Regions from separate parts of the Homo sapiens genome. Here regions 2 and 3 are each linked to region 1. Evidence: promoter capture Hi-C in 16 types of primary human blood cells and fetal thymus (Javierre and others, 2016). All regions are on one chromosome and are shown on one strand. Each heading gives the region's core, a stretch centred on a gene start or on the middle of the fragment in contact. The rest is flanking DNA. Distances are from core to core; before and after follow the strand shown. Region 1 holds the start of PSMD2 (proteasome 26S subunit ubiquitin receptor, non-ATPase 2). Region 2 holds the start of HTR3E (5-hydroxytryptamine receptor 3E). Region 3 overlaps LINC01839 (long intergenic non-protein coding RNA 1839).

Region 1 (3,344 bases), core at 1-2,500:
AAGGAATTCCTAAACTAGGCCTCCACCAGGTTTGAAACAGTTTTACCTTATTCTCCCCAGGGGCCATGTTCTCATAGATTTCCTTCAGTTTGCCATAGTGTGGACGCAGAAATTTGAGAGGCTTGGGCACTGAAGTCATGGAAGTTGTAGAAGAACGAATCTGCCTTCGCAATTCCTCCAGCGCTGGTCGATACAGGGATGTATCCTTCTCCTGATCAAGAGACGACAGGGCTCAGACAAAAAGGAGTCACACCCCTTCAAGTCATAATACAGAGATATTTAACTTAACAACTCCTCCAAGGAAATGCTGTGTCTTATTCATTCATCTGTGATTCCTCAACTCCCTGCACCCTGCCTGGCACAAAAACAAATGACCCAAGTTAAGAGGTAAGAACTCTGCTTCTCCCACAAGAGAAAGCTGCAAAACTGTACAAATACCCTTTGTAACTCTCCTGCCTCCCAACATCATCATAACACTGACCCTAAAATACAGTCCACCGTACATAGCAGTTGCCTCAAAAAAGAATAAAACAAGTGGGAAAGATCCAAACATGCACCGAATCATGTTAACATCGTGACTCACCCCTAGTCGTTCCACGAGCATCTCCAGTTCATCTTGAAGCTGTTTATCCTCTTCAGACTGGAGGGTTGGGAGAAGCAGCTCATGAAGAGAAGGAATCCCAAAGACGTCCTCCTCCCACTTACCCGGGGCAGGTGAAGAATAAGCCTGCCTCCTTAGGAGGGGCCAGGTGGACAAGGAAACCGAGTGGGAATGGGAAGCCCTGGTGAGAAATCAGCCTGGGTTCTGAATCAGGCTCTACTTGAATGCCACTCTAGGAAACGGAGGTGACAATGACCTGCCCGAGTCCACTTCACGCGGCGGTGGTGAGGGTTGGTGGGGACGGCGGAGGTGACAGCGCGGAACGGAGAATGAGGAGCAGAGAGGCAAGGTGCCGGGAGTCCCGAGGGTCGCCCCAACCGCCCTCTCCCTGGCGCGGTGGGGTAGTTGGGTGTCGGGCCTGAGGCCTGCGGAGCCGCCGTGACTCAGCCCCGCAGCCTCCTTCGCCGACTCTCGGGGTCGCGCCTCACCAGCTCCTGTTCTTTGTCCTTGTCCCCGGCATCCCGCCGCTCCTTGCCGCTCGGCTTCTCGTCCGTGCCGCCGGGGGCCGCCGCTGGAGACTGCTGGGGCTGCACCGGCGCCTTGTCCCGGCCTCCCTCCTCCATCTCCGCCGCCACTGCCGGCCCGCTGCGCGCGCACCCGCTCGCACCGCCCTTTTTCCCAGACCAACTCGCGCGCGTCGGTCGCGGCGCCCCTCCTCCTCCAGAGCCCGCCTGCGACCGGAAACGCCGGGGCGAGCCGGGGCGCTCGGCGACCCACCCACCCCCTCGGCCTGAGAGCCCCGCCCTCGGACCCCGCCCTCGGAGGCAGGTGGAGACTACAATTCCCAGCCTCCCCCGCGCCATAGTCGCCCCTGGCCCCCGACCTCTTCGGAGTTTCCTGAAACCCGCGGGACTTGGCCGTGTGGGGTTTGGGTTCGCTCACTGCTGTAGATGGGCGGTCTGCGAGCGGAGTTACCGAGTTTTACTCCGCCACAGGTTTTTCTCATAACGGTGTAAATAGAACCCACAGTGACACTCCAGTTGACTGCGTGGCGCGACAGACAAACTAGATTTCTTGACGTCCAGGACGCTTGATTGCCGCCTGTATAAAGTCTGTGTAACTGTGTCTAGCCCCACACCACTGTGGAATATTAACCTCATTTGGTTTTGTTGTTGTTGTTGCTTTTGAGAAGGAGGCTCGCTCTCTCGCCCAGGCTGGAGTGCAGTGGCGCGATCTCGGCTCACTGCAAACTCCGCCTACCAGGTTCAAGTGATTCTCGTGCCTCAACCTCCCGAGTAGCTGGGATTACAGGCGCCCGCCACCACGCCCAGCTAATTTTTGTATTTTTTAGTAGAGACGGGGGTTTCACTATGTTGGCCAGGCTGGTCTCGAACTCCTGACCTCAAGTGATCTGCCCGCCTCAGCCTCCCAAAGAGCTGTAATTACAGGTGTGAACCACCGCGCCCGGCCTATTAACCTCATTTGATATTCCTCCCCAGTTGAAAGAGAGTACTCTGCTATTCCCGTGGCTACCATTTTAAATACTTTGGGGAGCCAGGTGGAGTTGACATCGATCAATAAAGCCCTGTGCTCCCCGCCAAGTTCTGGAGCTAAAAGCAGAACAAGACAAGGTCTTCGTCCTCTATCTTCTCGTCTTTCCCTGTGAAGCCTTAGAGGCGTGTGACTGACGCGCTTATGTCAGGACTGCTTTCGAGTGATTCCATGCACTTCTTACAATCTTTTGAGATTGGTAGGGTTAGGTCCATTTTACAGAGAAGATCATATCAAGTAGTAAAATGAGGATTTATTTTTTATTTTATTTATTTGTTTTGAGATAGTGTTTCTCTCCTGTTGCCCAGGCTGGAGTGCAATGGCGCAATCTCGGCTCACCACAACCTTCGCCTCCCGGGTGCAAGTGATTCTCCTGCCTCAGCCTCCCGAGTAGCTGGATAAAGAGGAGTTTTAGAAAAAAATCCCTCTACAGATGACTGAAGAAAGCATGAAAATGTATGGACACCGTGAAGCCAGAGATAGAATAGGCAGAACAGTTATGGACTGTTGAATTTTTGTGCCACCACGCCCGGCTAATTTTTGTATTTTTAGTAGAGACGGGGTTTCTCCATGTTGGTCAGGCTGGTCTCCAACTCCCGACCTCAGGTGATCCGCCCGCCTCGGCCTCCCAAAGTTCTGGGATTACAAGCGTGAGCCACCGCGCCCGGCGGAATCAAAATTTAAAGCTCAGTCTTTCAGTCTTCAAAGCCCTTGACTGTTTTAGGCAAACCCCAGAGTTTCTTCTTCAGCTGTGTGTGTGTGTGTGTGCGTGTAAGGTGAGAAAAAAGGAAGTATCTCTTCTCCCTTTCACCTAGTGGGAACACTCAGGAGTCTTCTAGCAATCTTATTTTATGGGTTCTGACACATTGAAGAAAAAGACACCTAGTACAACATATCACAGAGTGAATGTTGGGTAAATGTTTGTGTAGATACGGAAGTAAAGGTCTGAATCCATTTTAAATACCTGTTGCTCTTTTCCACTCAGTGCTTGGATTCTAGGCATGACCTTCCATTGCCATTGCCAATGACTCCCCCAGCGCTGGTCTGCAGACAAAAATTCAACAGTCCATAACTGTTCTGCCTATTCTATCTCTGGCTTCACGGTGTCCATACATTTTCATGCTTTCTTCAGTCATCTGTAGAGGGATTTTTTTCTAAAACTCCTCTTTATCCATGACTTCCTTCTTCTTTT
Region 2 (3,678 bases), core at 58-2,557, 200 kb after region 1:
AGACACTGTGCTTCCCTCCTTCTCTTACTGAATCCTCACAACCCTGCAAGGTAGGTTCTGTTTTACAGATGAGGAAACCAGAGCTCAGATAAGTTAAGCAGTGCATCCAAGTTTATAAAACTAGCAACGTGAGACACCAAGATTCAAACCCAGGTCCACCTGTCTCCAAATCCCATGTTCTTGTCTCTCTACCATGCTGACCCCCTGGAAGAGAAGCACATTCTACTTTCACCCTTGACCTGCTGCCTTCTGGCACCTTACCTAACCTAGAGCCCTTGGATCCAGCAGATGGACAGGGAAATTATGGCTAAAGGAGGTGGGCACTTTGCTACAATGGTTTGGGTTTCATACCTGTAGAGAGAAAGAATTACACCTGTGGATAGAAAGATGGATGGATATAGAAGCTAAATACAAGAGAAGACGATCGTGGATGGTTGTCTTCCATGTAGGGTACCAATGGAGAAAAGACAGACTTTTCAAGTAGTATTGGGAAAACTGGATATCCATATGTGAAAGGATAAAGTTTGCTGGTGTTGAACTCTATTTTTCGAGAAGGAAAATGAAAGTGCTCTTGTTTGGCATGTAACTGGAAGGGGATTTTCCGTCTTTCAGAAAAGGAAAGTCTATGTGGGCATCTTAGTAATGTAGCTATGAAAGAACTCTATCCATCTTAGACAATCTCTAGGAGTTGGAAATTTGAAAAAAGTTCCTAGATGTTCTACTAGAGAGAGGTCCTCCTTCTTCCGCCTTCCCCCATCATTGCTCCTTTCTTACCTTGAAGCAGAAAACCGAGAAGGAGGTAGAAGGAAAATCTTTTCCTGTGGAACCAGCTTCCTTCCATCTTCTTTGTCTAAGTTCTTCTCTGAACATGTACTGGGACCCAGGAATGCCCAGATTAAAGCAGCACAGGCCACACCTAGAGTCTGACTTTGAATACTAATAGCATTGGTTGACCACTGACATTTGTAACCTTCCTTCAAAGAGTGTTCTGGTTGTCTTGTTCTTGCCTATGCTTAAGGTTCAGTCTGCTTTTAAGACTTTATCTTAGTCTTAGGTATTTCACTGCAACGTAAATGGTTATAGATAGTTCATACGTGATCAACTTGCAGATCTTGGTGAGATCCCTTGGTCTGAAGACTCATCTCTTCAATTTTGGAAAATTCTCAGACATTTATAAATGTTTCACTTCCTCTATTTTTCTTATTAGACATGTGTTGAATGGTTTCCTTCTATCTTACATGCCTTTTATTGCTGTTGTAACAAATCACAAACCCAGTGGCTTAAATAAACACAATTTGTTATTTTACTGTTCTGTGGGCCAGAAGTTTGAAATGGGTCTCACTGGGCTAAAATGAATGTGTCAGCAGGACCGCATTCCCTCTGGAGGCTCTAGAGGAGAATCCATTTCCTTGCCTTTTCCAGATTTTTTTTTTTTTGAGACAGGGTTTCACTCTGTTGACCAGGCTGGAGTGCAGTGGCGCAATCGCGACTCACTGCAGCCTTGACCTCCTGGGCTCAAGGGATCTTTCCGTCTCAGCCTCCCAAGTAGCTGGGACCTCACAGGTGTGAGCCACCAAGCTTGGCTATTTTTTTTTTTTTTAGTAGAAATGAGGTCTCGCTTTGTTGCCTAGGCTTGTCTCCAACTCCTGGCCTCAAGTGATCCTCCAACCTTGATCTCCCAAAGTGCTGGGATTATAGACATGAGCCATTGTACCCGGCCTTTTCCAGCTTTTAAACTGCCTGTATTTCTTGGTTCATTATTTTTACTTCTCCATCTTCAAAACCAGCAACATCAGGCCAATGTTTCTCACAAGGCATCTCATCTCTCTGGTTCTTATTTGTTTCTCTCTCCTTCTTCCACTTATAAGAGCCTTTGTGATTGCATTGTGTCCATTTGGATAATCCAGGATAGTCTCCCCATCTCAAAGTCCGATAATTAACAACCTTAATTCCATCTGCAACCTTAACTCCCCTTTTCCATATAACCTAAGGTTCCAGAGATTAGGATGTGGACAAATTCTGGGGGCCGTTATTCTGCCTAGCACACCTCTCTTTCCTATTTTCTACCTCTTTATCTCTGTCCCTAATGATTTCTTCAGATCTAGCTTCCAGGAAAAAAATTCTCTCCTCAACTGTGTTTATTTTAATTAATTAATTAATTAATTTTTGATGAAACTCAGTAATTTTTATTGCAACTGGAAGACAATACATTGCAGAAACTTTATGGTAGGTCTGGGGAAAAGTGTTATTTACAATAGATTATGACATAATTTGTCTTTGACAATATGATTACATACGAAGAATGCAAAATGCAAGTATGGATGCCTTCCATATTTTATTTTATTTTGAGATGGAGTCTCATTCTGTTGCCCAGGCTAGAGTGCAGTGGCGTGATCTTGGCTCACTACAGCCTCCACCTCCTTGATTTGAGCGATTCTCCTGTCTCAGCCTCCTGAGTAGTTGGGACTACAGGCTTGTGCCACCACACCCAGCTAATTTTTGTATTTTTATTAGAGACAGGGTTTCACCATGTTGTCCAGGCTGGTCTTGAACTCCTCACCTCAGCTGATCTGCCCACCTCGGCCTTCCAAAGTGCTGGGATTACAGGAGTGAGCCACTGTGCTTGACCCTCAACTGTGTCTAATCTGTCCATCTAATCTGCCCACTGAGTTTTGGTTTTGTTTTTTTGTTTTTTTGTTTTTTAGAGAGAGGGTTTCACTGTCTCCCACCATGCCTGGCCCTCAACTGTGAGCCACCATGCTGGGATTACAGACGTGAGCCACCGTGCCCGGCCCTCAGCTGTGTCTAATCTGTCCACTGAGTTTTGCTTTTTGTTTTGTTTTGTTTTTTTTAGAGACAGGGTCTCACTGTCTCCCAGGCTGGAGTACAGTGGTATGATCATAGCTCACTGTAGCCTTGAACTCCAGGGCTCAAGCAATCCTGCCACCTCAGCCTCCCAAGTAGCTGGGACTACAGGTGCATGCCACCATGTGTGGCTAATTTTTTTTTATTGTTTCTAGAGACAGGGCCTTGCTATGCTGCCCAGGCTGGTGTTGAACTCCTGGCCTCAAGCAATCCTCCTGCCTCAGCCTCCCAAATCACTGGAATTTACAGGTATGAACCACTATGGCTAACCTTTTACCCATTTTTAAATCAAGTTGTTTTTTGTTGTTGAGTTTCAGGAATTCTATGTATAGTTTGGATATTAATCCCTTATCAGCTATATAATTTGCAAATGTTTTCTCCCATTTTGTGGGTTGTCTTCTTTCCTCTGTTAATAGTGTCTTTTGATTCATAGATGTTTAATATTTTCATGAAGTACTATTTGTCTATTTTTTCTTTTGTTGCCTATGCCTTTGTGTCATATCCAAGAAATCACTGCTAACTCCAATGTTTTGAAGCTTTTTCCCTATGTGTTCTTTTAGGAGTTTTATTGTTTTAGGTCTACACTTAAATCTTCTTTTTTTTTTTTGAGACGGAGTTTCACTCTTGTTGCTCAGGCTGAGTGCAATGGCATGATCTCAGCTCACTGCAACCTCCACCTCCTGGGTTCAAGTGATTCTCCTGCCTTAGCCTCTCAAGTAGCTGGGATTACAGGCATGTGCCACTACCCCCAGCTAATTCTGTATTTTTAGTAGAGACGGGGTTTCTCCATGTTGGTCAGGCTGGACTCGAACT
Region 3 (3,506 bases), core at 928-3,427, 230 kb before region 1:
CTAATGTTGTATTTTAGTAGAGACAGGGTTTCACTATATTGGTCAGAATGGTCTTGAACTCCTGACCTCAAGTGATCCACCCTCCTCAGCCTTCCAAAGTGCTGGTGTGGGATTACAGGTGTGAGCCACCGTGCCTGGACTACTTTGTTTGATTGTAGTTCATAGGACCCCATTCCAAAGAGGGGCCCTGCCCCATCCCCAGAAGGAAAGGTCAGGAGTTTGAGACCAGCCTGACCAATATGGTGAAACCCCGTCTCTACTAAAAAATACAGAAATAAATTAGCTGGGCGTGGTGGCGCGCACCTGTAGTCCCAGCTACTAAGGAGGCTGAGGCAGGAGAATCGCTTGAACCTGGGAGGCAGAGGTTGCAGTGCGCCGAGATCGCACCACTGCACTCCAGCCTGGCGACAGAGAGACTCCGTCTCAAAAACAAAAACAAAAAACAGCTTCTCTTGTATCTTTGGGTTGTCATTCTAAAGGCTCCCATGTCACATAAACTGTGATCAAATAAATTTGTATGCATTTTTTCCCGTTAATCTGCCTTTTGTCAGTGATTTTTAGTAAACCTTCAAAGGAGGCTTTCCCTTGACTCCTACACTCTCCTTGAAATAAGTAACTTCTACGGTTTTGCGAGAATCTTTTTTCTTACAATAGGAATGTATGTTTACTGAAGAAAATTCAGGAAATAGAGATAAGCAAAAAGTAGAAAATTTAGATCGACTAGAATCCCATCTCTTAGGGAAAAACATAGTTGGTGTTTTCTTGTTTTTTGCATCTTATTTCCTGCATATGTATATGTGTTTGTGTGTTTGTGTAAGAAACACATTTTTCAAAGAACCAAAATGGGCTCATCCCACACCTACTGGTTTTCCCTTTACCGTACAATCTAAAGCTAGCTCTACATCAATAGCAGGAGCCAGGGGGCTTGTGAGAAGAGCAGAATGTCAGGCCCGAACCGGAATCTGCATTTTCGTAAGCCCCCTAGAGGATTCCTGTGCCCCACACACTCTGGGGAGCATCGCCATTTTTAATGGCCACAGAGTCTCCCAAACAGGGCTAGACCGTGATTCACTCATTGCATCTCTCGGTGGTGAGGATTTTCCCTGTAACAAGAAGCTGGTCCCTCTGGGATCTCTGGGCTCTTCAGACCCTCCCCCTCAGTCCGTGCCCAGGAGACTCCAACAGCTGGGCAGGCGGCGTCCTTGCCCGTCCTCCACGGGCGAGATGCGCTGTCCACCTCCGCCCTCCTCTTGCTCCACCTGGCCAGAGGCCTGGGCTGCGCGCTCCCCGCGCTCCTGCGCAGGCTCTACTGGGAGCCCCTCCAGGGCGCAGTCCGGACCTGACGGGCAAGCCCTGACCTGCCTTTCATCCCGCTGATGCTCGCGCCCAGCTCCCTGTGAATACCCACTGATTGCCCCCGGAGTCTCCCCGTTAGGCCCTCCCGCACCTCTTACCCCTTCCTCCCCTTCCTGGCCTCCCCAGCTCCCTCACCCGCCTTCTAGAAGCATCCTCCCCCTTCTCACCCACCTCTCTACTCCTCCCTTCCCGACTTCCTCAATTCCCACCTCCCCCCCAAATTCCAGTCCTCTCCCTGGGAAAGAGAAAGCGGCCGGGGTCCCACCCTGGCTGTGTGTGGCCCGCGGTGGGGTGGGGCAGCCTGCCAGCCGCCAGGTAGCGCGAATGGAGCGCGGGGCGCCGCGCGCTGCGGGCGGGTGAAGCCGGAATCGGGGCGGCGGCTCGGCCCCCGGCCCCCGGCCCCGGGGAGCCCAGAGCGACTAGTCGGGCAGGAAAAGAATGACGGTGACGTGACCACTCTGACCCCGAGGACTCTCTGGGCTCTGGCGGGCGCTGGGCTCGGCGGATCTGAGTGCGTAGGAAGGGCGATGGGCGCTCAGTCCCCGAGGATCACCTGCGGGACCCTTTGGGGGCACCTGCCGGAGCAGCTGGCCCTGCGACGGGTCCCACCGCGCCCTCAGCAGCAAGGCGGTTCTCCCTTTATAGAGGTTTTACGTGCGTTTGTGGGGGGTGTTCTCAAAACAATACAAATAAGCTTCCATTGTCACCGATCAAAATAGTAAGGGCTTTTTAAAAGGAAACTGTTTAGGGCTGACAGAGCTACAGAGGAAGTGGAGTGATCCGGGCACAGTCAGGGACGGGGGAGGGGGGCGGAACTGGTCTAGCTGTTTTGGCAAAATGTAATAATACAGAGTTAGAGTCTTTGAATGCTCACACTGTTTGATATTGTGGTTCTAGTAGTGGTCATGCATCAGAAGAAATAATCCCAAATATTCCCCCAAAGCTTTTATGGACACAGACATTCTTTGCACTGAAAAATGAGAAAAAAAATTATCTAAAATTGGAATCAACTAGTTGGGCACTGATAAATACATTATGGTGTATCCACAGTTGTGATATCATTCTGTCATTGATAACATTTCTGAAAAGTTTTCGATAGTATAAGGAAATTTTCTCATTCTGTAAAAGGCACAAGGTGAGTTTGTATACACAAGATAATCACAAGTATATAAACTAAGCATAGTGGAAAGACTGGAAGAAATACATTTTAAATAGGAATGGGTGCTTTTTTTTTCTTTTGAAAAAACTTTTTTATGAACTATTTCAGATACATATCAAGGTATAGAGAAGAACTTACCCATCAATAATCATGGGGAATGGAGCAACCTCACTGCTGAAGCCCCTTAGGGACCCTCTTCACCACCTTCCTCACCCTCATCCCTGAGGTGACTTCTCACTATCTTTATTACATATGAGTGGATTCCTAAACATTATATAAGTATTTCAAACTTGACATATATGACAAAGTATTATGCACACTCCTTTGACTTGCTTTTTTAAGTCAACTTGGTGCTCTGGGGATTCATCCATGTCGACTCATGTTGATGAATCTGGCTCTGGTTCATTCAGTAAATATGACTTAATATTTCTCAAAAACGTAGAGCAGAGCCTGGCACATGGCACTACATATGTTTGTTGTTTTTTAAGAAATAAAAAATCATTTTCACTGCAGTATAGTAGACTTGTTAATATCATACTAAATGTATTGATCCATTCTCCTGCTGTGAAAATTTAGAATGTTTCCATTTTGTTCTTATTACAAACAGTGCCGCGATGAACATTCTGGTCTGTGTCTTCTTGTGCACATGTGAGTTTCTATGGAGTGCACCTAGCATTGGCCACAGACATTGCAAGGGATGCCTAACTTCAGTGCTACAAATTACTGCCCAGTCGTTCTCCAAAGCGATCTTGCCAGCAGCAGATGAGTCATTGTAGTAACACTCCCAGCCCTCAACACTGCCTCTCATCACGTCAGTTCTTTTCCAGTGTAATGGGTGTGGTTACTTCTCATGGTTTAAATTTGCATTTCCCTAATTACCATGGGGTTAGAGGTCAGGCATTTGTTCCTATGTTTATTGGTATTTTTTATACTGTAAAGTCTTGATCATAACTTTTTCCTATTTTTCTATTGGTTGTTGACATTTTCTTGT

The links. Contacts are between HindIII fragments. The CHiCAGO score rates a contact against its expected background, and 5 or more counts as called.
Region 2: the fragment with the promoter of HTR3E here is called in contact with the fragment with the promoter of PSMD2 in region 1 in 4 of 17 cell types (M0 macrophages, endothelial precursors, M1 macrophages and 1 more); the score reaches 8.3 in M0 macrophages.
Region 3: a fragment that was not itself captured here is called in contact with the fragment with the promoter of PSMD2 in region 1 in 1 of 17 cell types (total B cells); the score reaches 6.0 in total B cells.

What each region holds. Positions count from the first base shown.
Region 1 is chr3:184,297,147-184,300,490 of GRCh38, reverse strand. It overlaps PSMD2 (proteasome 26S subunit ubiquitin receptor, non-ATPase 2), which reads right to left and starts at 1,250. Exons shown (of 21, transcript NM_002808.5): 1 at 1,090-1,250; 2 at 584-640; 3 at 47-211. The coding sequence starts at 1,224. RefSeq lists a silencer at 1,243-1,582. The HindIII fragment of the contact is 6,965 bases long and covers 1-3,344 here.
Region 2 is chr3:184,094,693-184,098,370 of GRCh38, reverse strand. HTR3E (5-hydroxytryptamine receptor 3E) reads right to left here and starts at 1,307. Exons shown (of 9, transcript NM_001256613.2): 1 at 775-1,307. The coding sequence starts at 841. HTR3E-AS1 (HTR3E antisense RNA 1) reads left to right here. Exons shown (of 3, transcript NR_133658.1): 3 at 3,021-3,253. The HindIII fragment of the contact is 4,461 bases long and covers 1-1,580 here.
Region 3 is chr3:184,523,807-184,527,312 of GRCh38, reverse strand. All of the region lies in intron 6 of LINC01839 (long intergenic non-protein coding RNA 1839), which reads right to left. Among named protein-coding and RNA genes, the nearest start is that of LINC01840, 31 kb to the left of the region's middle. RefSeq lists enhancers at 710-1,512, 1,513-2,317. The HindIII fragment of the contact is 249 bases long and covers 2,053-2,301 here.